Regions from separate parts of the Homo sapiens genome. Here region 1 is linked to region 2. Evidence: promoter capture Hi-C in human tissues and cell types (Jung and others, 2019). All regions are on one chromosome and are shown on one strand. Each heading gives the region's core, a stretch centred on a gene start or on the middle of the fragment in contact. The rest is flanking DNA. Distances are from core to core; before and after follow the strand shown. Region 1 has its middle 41 kb from the start of ETV4. Region 2 holds the start of MPP3 (MAGUK p55 scaffold protein 3).

What was found. The method cuts DNA at HindIII sites, captures the fragments that hold promoters and counts their contacts. A contact is called where the count stands out against the background at its distance.
Region 1: a contact is called between a fragment that was not itself captured here and the fragment with the promoter of MPP3 in region 2, in 1 of the 25 tissues and cell types used here (dorsolateral prefrontal cortex).

Annotation. Positions count from the first base shown.
Region 1 is chr17:43,585,450-43,588,717 of GRCh38, forward strand. No RefSeq gene overlaps it. Among named protein-coding and RNA genes, the nearest start is that of ETV4, 41 kb to the left of the region's middle. The HindIII fragment of the contact is 8,760 bases long and covers 1-3,268 here.
Region 2 is chr17:43,831,601-43,834,746 of GRCh38, forward strand. It overlaps MPP3 (MAGUK p55 scaffold protein 3), which reads right to left and starts at 1,546. Exons shown (of 20, transcript NM_001932.6): 1 at 1,501-1,546; 2 at 1,161-1,219; 3 at 282-343; 4 at 1-77. The coding sequence starts at 306. It overlaps LOC107984979 (a long non-coding RNA gene), which reads left to right and starts at 2,105. Exons shown (of 3, transcript XR_001753057.2): 1 at 2,105-2,389. RefSeq lists silencers at 1,506-1,555, 1,576-1,675. The HindIII fragment of the contact is 8,852 bases long and covers 175-3,146 here.

The DNA of each region.
Region 1 (3,268 bases), core at 516-3,015, 250 kb before region 2:
TATAAACTGTGGTGAGTAGGGCTTGGGAATACATCTCACACCCTGTTTGTCAACATTTCCCCAGGACAATGCCTGGCACAATGCTCTCAGTGCTGATGCATTGGATGTGCAAAAGGTCCTGGGTTCAGGCCAATTTAGATTTCTTTGGCATGAAGAGCAGCAAATTAACATTCCTCTCTCCCTATTACAGATGAGACAGATGAGCTTAGAAATCTTAAACAACTCAGCAGGCTGGGCGCGGTGGCTCACGCCTATAATCCCAGCACTTTGGGAGGCCGAGGCGGGTGGATCACGAGGTCAGGAGATCGAGACCATCCTGGCTAACACGGTGAAACCCCATCTCTACTAAAAAATACAAAACATTAGTCGGGCGTGGTGGTGGGTACCTGTAGTCCCAGCTGCTCGGGAGGCTGAGGCAGGAGAATGGCGTGAACCTAGGAGGCGGAGCTTGCAGTGAGCCGAGATCGCACCACTGCGCTCCTGCCTAGGCGACAGAGCGAGACTCTGTCTCAAAAAAAAAAAAAAAGAAAGCTTAAATAACTCGTCCTAGGTGTATGGTGGCATCAGATAATCTAAGGGACAGGGGCATTAGGGGTTACTGACCAATGTGGAGCCCTCAGCACACATGGAATGATTGTGATCCCAAGCAGAATTAATGTGGGCACATTGTTCTCTGCAGGCTGTAGGTCTTCTCACTGGGGCTTGTATTCCAGGAAGGGGCCTTCTCTGGCTGGCCCAGATTTAGAGTGAGGGGAGTGAGGAACTCACCACAGGCCCAAAATGTAAGGGGCACCGAGTAATCAAGATAAATAAAATTTAATGCATTTTTTTTTTCTTTCAGAGACAGGGTCTTGTTCTGTGCCTCAGGCTGGAATGCAGTGGCACAGTTATGGCTCACTGCAGCCTGGAACTCCTGGGCTCAAGCAATCCTCCTGCCTCAGCCTCCTGAGTAGCTGGAACTACAGGCATGTGCCACCACGCCCAGCTAATTTATTTATTTTTTGTAGAGACAGGTTCTTGCTATGTTTCCCAGGCTGGTCTTGAACTCCCGGCCTCAAAAAATTTTCCTGCCTAGGCCAGGCATGGTGGCTCACGCCTGTAATCCCAGCACTTTGGGAGGCCGAGGCAGGCCGATCACAAGGTCAGGAGATTAAGACCATCCTGGCTAACATGGTGAAACCCCGTCTCTACTAAAAATACAAAAAATTAGCCAGGTATGGTGGCAGGCACCTGTAGTCCCAGCTACTAGGGAGGCTGAGGTAGGAGAAGGGCGTAAACCCAGGAGGTGGAGCTTGCAGTGAGCCGAGATTGCGCCATTGCACTCCAGCCTGGGCAACAGAGCGAGACTCCATCTCAAAAAAAAACTTTTCCTGACTCAACCTCCCAAAGTGCTGGGATTACAGATGTGAGCCACTGTGCCTGGCCTAATGCAATATTTTTGTTGTCAGTAAACTACAGTCTGTGAGCTGGCTGCCTGTTTTTTAAAACAAGGTTTTATTGGAACCAAGACTGAGATTAGGGTGAGGTGAATGAGACACGATATTGAGGGAAGGGTTGGATCTTGTGTTTATTTGAAATCTTAATATTTTGTTCATCATCAATTTTTACATTAATTTTGATTTTTTTTTATTTTGAGATGGAGTCTCGCACTGTTGCCCAGGCTGGAGTGCAGTGGCGCGATCTTGGCTCATTGCAAGCTCCGCCTCCTGGGTTCACGCCATTCTCCTACCTCAACCTCCCTAGTAGCTGGGACTACAGGCACCCGCCACCATGCCCGGCTAATTTTTTGTACTTTTAGTAGAGACAGGGTTTCACCGTGTTAGCCAGGATGGTCTTGATCTCCTGACCTCATGATCCACCCGCCTTGGCCTCCCAAAGTGCTGGGATTACAGGCGTGAGCCAATGCACCTGGCCAATTTTGATTTTTAAAAATTGCGTTAAAGTATTATCTATCTTGGACCGGGCACAGTGGCTCATACCTGTAATCCCAGCACTTTGGGAGGCTGAGGCAGGTGGATCACCTGAGGTCAGGAGTTGGAGACCAGCCTGGCCAACATGGTAAAATCCCGTCTCTACTAAAAATACAAAAATTAGCCAGGCATGGTGGTGATGCATGCCTGTAGTTCCAGCTACTAGGGAGGCTGAGGTGGGAGAATCGCTTGAGCCTGGGAGGCAGAGGTTGCAGTGAGCCGAGATCATGCCACTGCACTCCAGCCTGGGGAACAGAGTGAGATTCCATCTCAAAAACAACAAAAAAGTATTATTGTATTTGTCACTTTTCACGCTGCTGATAAAGACATACCTGTGACTGGGCAAATTACAAAAGAAAGAGGTTTAATAGAGAATTCACAGTTCCACGTGGCTGGGGAAGCCTCGCAATCATGGAAGAATGCAAGGAGGAGCAAGTCACATCTTACACAGATGACAGCAGGCAAAAAGAGAGAGCTTGTGCAGGCAAACTTCTGCTTTTTTTTTTTTTAAACCATCAGATCTCATGAGACTCATTCAGTATCACACGAACAGTGCAGGAAGATCTACCCCCATAATTCAATCACCTCCCACTGGGTTCCTCCCATGACACGTGGGAATGGTGGGAGTTACAATTCAAGATGAGATTTGGGTGGGGACACAGAGCCAAACCATATCAGTTATCTATCTTGATTTCTGAGTTTTGGGGCACTCCCTTAAGTTGTGTTGGAGGCAAATGCCTTAATTGTCTCTTAGGGCCTTCCCCCATTGTACCGTGGGTTCTAAGATGGGCAGCTGCCAGTAAAGACTGGGCCCTGGGGTTCAGTTCCCTTGGTTCCCTGGCTGACTGCAGCCCCAAGCAGCCTGGACAAAACAGCTGTGGGCAGATACTTCCTGTCCCTCAGGAATTGTTGCATGAGGTTTTGGTTTGGCTTCTTTAGGAAATTAGGTCTCCCTTCATCCACTGGTGTTTCTTTGTTGAACAGCTGTCATCAGCCAGCCACCAAACGTGACAGAATTGGGTTTCTCACACTGTTGCCCAGGCTGGGGTGCAGTGGTGCAAACATGGCTTACTGCACCCTCAATCTCCCAGGCTCAAGTGATCCTCTCATCTCAGCCCCACCAAGTAGTTAGGATTACAGGTGTGCACCACCACACCTGGCTAATTTTTGTACTTTTTGTAGAGAAGGGGTTTCACCATGTTGCCCAGGCTGGCCTCAAACTCCTGAACTCAAGTGATCTGCTTTCCTTGGCCTCCCAAAGTGCTGCAATTACAAGCACCGGCCTGGCTTCTAAATGT
Region 2 (3,146 bases), core at 296-2,795:
CAGGAAGCCCATCTCCTCCTTGTGGTTGGAGTCAGGTCTGAGCTGGGAGGTCAGCAGGGCCAGGGTTTCATGCAAACCTGGGGAGAGGTGAGAAAAACAAAGGATAGCAAACGCAGTGGGTGCTCCCTGCCCCCGAGGAGCCCGAGTGGGGCCTCAAACAGCACTTCAGTCCTGCCGTGAGGACATTCTCTCCCCAGGCTCTCACTGCCAGGGCCTGGAGGCTGCCAGGCAGGCTCTTGTCTTCAGGACTGTGGCAGGTCCAGCCGGGGGGAGGTACTTACCAGAGTCCTCCGATAGCACTGGCATGCTGGCGTTGTCACCTCCCGACCTCTCCCTGCAGATTCTGGGAGAAGGGGGTGGAGGTGGGTATTGAAGCTCCATCAAGCATATTTATTGAACAAACTGACTACACATCTACTGTGTTCTCTGAGACCAGGCTGTGGACAGAGAGGATGGGAACAAATAACTCTGCTTACTTTTTTCAGAGAGGAAGGAAATAAAGCTAAGATGTGCTGAGTGTCCTCGATGTGCCAAGCATTGTGTGGGGTGATTTCTATGATAAACTTTTTGTCTGCACAAAGTCCTGAGAAATGACTGCGAATGTTCCCATTTTATTGATGAAGAAACAGCGGCGTGGAAGCTTTCAGTAAGCTGTGGGTCAAAATCCATATTCAAGCAGGCTCTTCCAGGCTGGCCTTGGAGGTGCCAAGTGACCCTGCCTGACAGTGTCAGCTGTCCTCCGCAGCGCGCCCCCTCCACTGCAACCTTCTAAGAGCCCTGGCTCAAGTCTCCTGCTGGGACACACCTTCCACAACTACCTGGCTGGGCCTACAAGCCCCCTGTCCCCGACCCCCCAAGACCCAACCCAAAGGGAGCCTCCAGACTGGAGTGCAGAGAGGAGGGGGGGAAATGGGAGTCGGGCTTCCACTATGCAGGAGGGGGGACCCCTATCTCATGAGGCCCTCCAAAGGTGCTCTGCAGCACGTGGACCTCAAAAAGTCCTCCTTAGGAAGAGGAGAAGGAGAGTCATGACTGATTCATTCCGCAAACATGGAGCCAGCCCGCAGCGCCGAGCCCCGGTGCCACTAAGAGGCGTAAGAGCGGCCCCGGGCCCTCCAGCCTCCGCCCCGCCCCGCCCCGCCACGCCACGCCGGACTCACCCTCGGGCTGCTCCCCGCAGGAGGCCGAGCACCGACTCCCGCTCGCTCTCCGAAGGAACCTGTGGGAGAACAAGGAGCGCACTGGGCGCAGGAGCAGCGACCCCGGGGGACCTCGGAGGGCGGTCCCGGAGGACGCGGAGCAGCAGGGAGCGGGGGGCGCGCGGCGGGGCGGGCGCGGGAAGAGGGAGGCGGGGGCCGAGGGGCGGGGTTGAGACTCCCGCGGTGGGCTCGGTGGGCCGCGAGGCTGTCCGGGAGCACGGGAGGAGGGTCTCGGCCCGGCCTCCCGCCCCTCCCGCCGCGGCGCCCAGCTCCCTCGTCCGTTCCCCTCGCGGCCTCCTACCTCGTCGCGCCGGGATGTGTGCTCCGCGAACGGGAGCCGCGCGAGTGCCCAGAGCCTGGGCCGCCGCTGGCTCCGCCTTCCCGGACCCCTCCCTGCGGCTGCCGCGCCGGGCGGGGGTGGCGGAGCCTGAGGAGGCGCGGCGCGGGGAGGAGGCGCGGCGCGGGGAGGAGGCGGGGGAGGAGCGGAGGCCGCCCTCCGCGTCTGGCACCGCCGCACCCTCCGGGCCGGGCTCCGCTAGCCGGCGTCGTACCCGCTCCCGCTCTCCCGCTCCCTGAGTCCCCTGCCTGTGTCCCCCCGCACCCTGGCACACAGCCAGACTTCCCTTCCGCCCGCGCAACCCACCCTCCGCGAGTGGAGGGGTGGACACCTGCTCAACAGAGAATTCGATTTTGCAAACATTTATTGAGCGCCCTCCAGGTGCCAGGCGCTGTGCCAGGGGCCGGGGCTTCAAAGACGACCAAGGCACAGATCCTGGGTTTGAAGATCTCCAGAGGTGGGGCGGGGGGCCGGTCGGATGCGAGGGCAACTCGCTGTAACAATGCAACGCGCTGGGAAAGATTTATCGGTGCACGCTGCCCTGGGGACGCGGAGCAGGGGAGGAGAAGTCAGGCTGGAGAGGAGGGGGACTCCATTCTGCCCGGCTGCAGGGGAGTGAGGCTACATAGCAGAGGCGAGCAGCATCCAGGGGCTTTACTGGAAAAAGAGCTCTGAAATGGCCATGACGATAACTGACTTATATTGTGCTGTCTCCATGCCCAGGTACTCCTCAGATCACTTCCCTTCACAGTAGTTCCTGATATCAAGACCATTCTTATTTTGGTTCTGCAATTGAGGAAACTGAGGTTCCTGGTGAAAGAATGTGTATAGGGGAGAGCATAGGAACTGCTGGGTGAGTGAGCAGGTGGTTGTGGGTATTAAAAGGTGAGGAGTGGGTGAGTGAGTGGGCCCCCTTCCCTCAATCCCAGCAGCAAAGAACGGCACAGCACATGTCAGGAGAGGTGGACCCAGAGGTTAAGTCTGGAAGTAAATCTAGCCCTGCACAGTAACCAGGGAAAATGGGTTGGCAGGCCCCACAGGCTGTAGTGCATGGGGAGGCTGTGAGAGGCAGCAAATGTCATGATGATGTTTCCCCTCATTCCTCAAAAATTATCCTCATTCCTCAAGAAATATCTACACTATTGCTCCTCAAAATGTAACGTGCCTGAGACTCACTAGGGGGTTGTGTAATGCTGGAGTGGTGCCAGATTCTGAATTTCTGACAAGCTCCCAGGTGATGTGACGCCACTGGTCTGCAGACCACACTTTTTGAGTGGAGAGAGACTGCATGAGACACATTCTTAGCTGCAATGTTTACTGTTGGAAAAATAATGAGAACCATCTGATCCATCTGATATGGGTCAAATGATTTTGGACAAGAACACCAGGAAGTGGTGTTGGAACAAGTAGATATTTATGTGCCTGAAGGGACCCAATCCCTACCTCACACCATATTCAAAACGCAATTTAAGAGAGATCATTGGCCTAAACATAAAGCAAATCGATAAAGCTACTAGAATAAAACAGGAGGGTATCTTTTAAATCTTGGGGTATGCAAAGATTTCCTAGAAAGGATACAAAAAAGCCAGGCATGGTGGCATGAGCCTGTA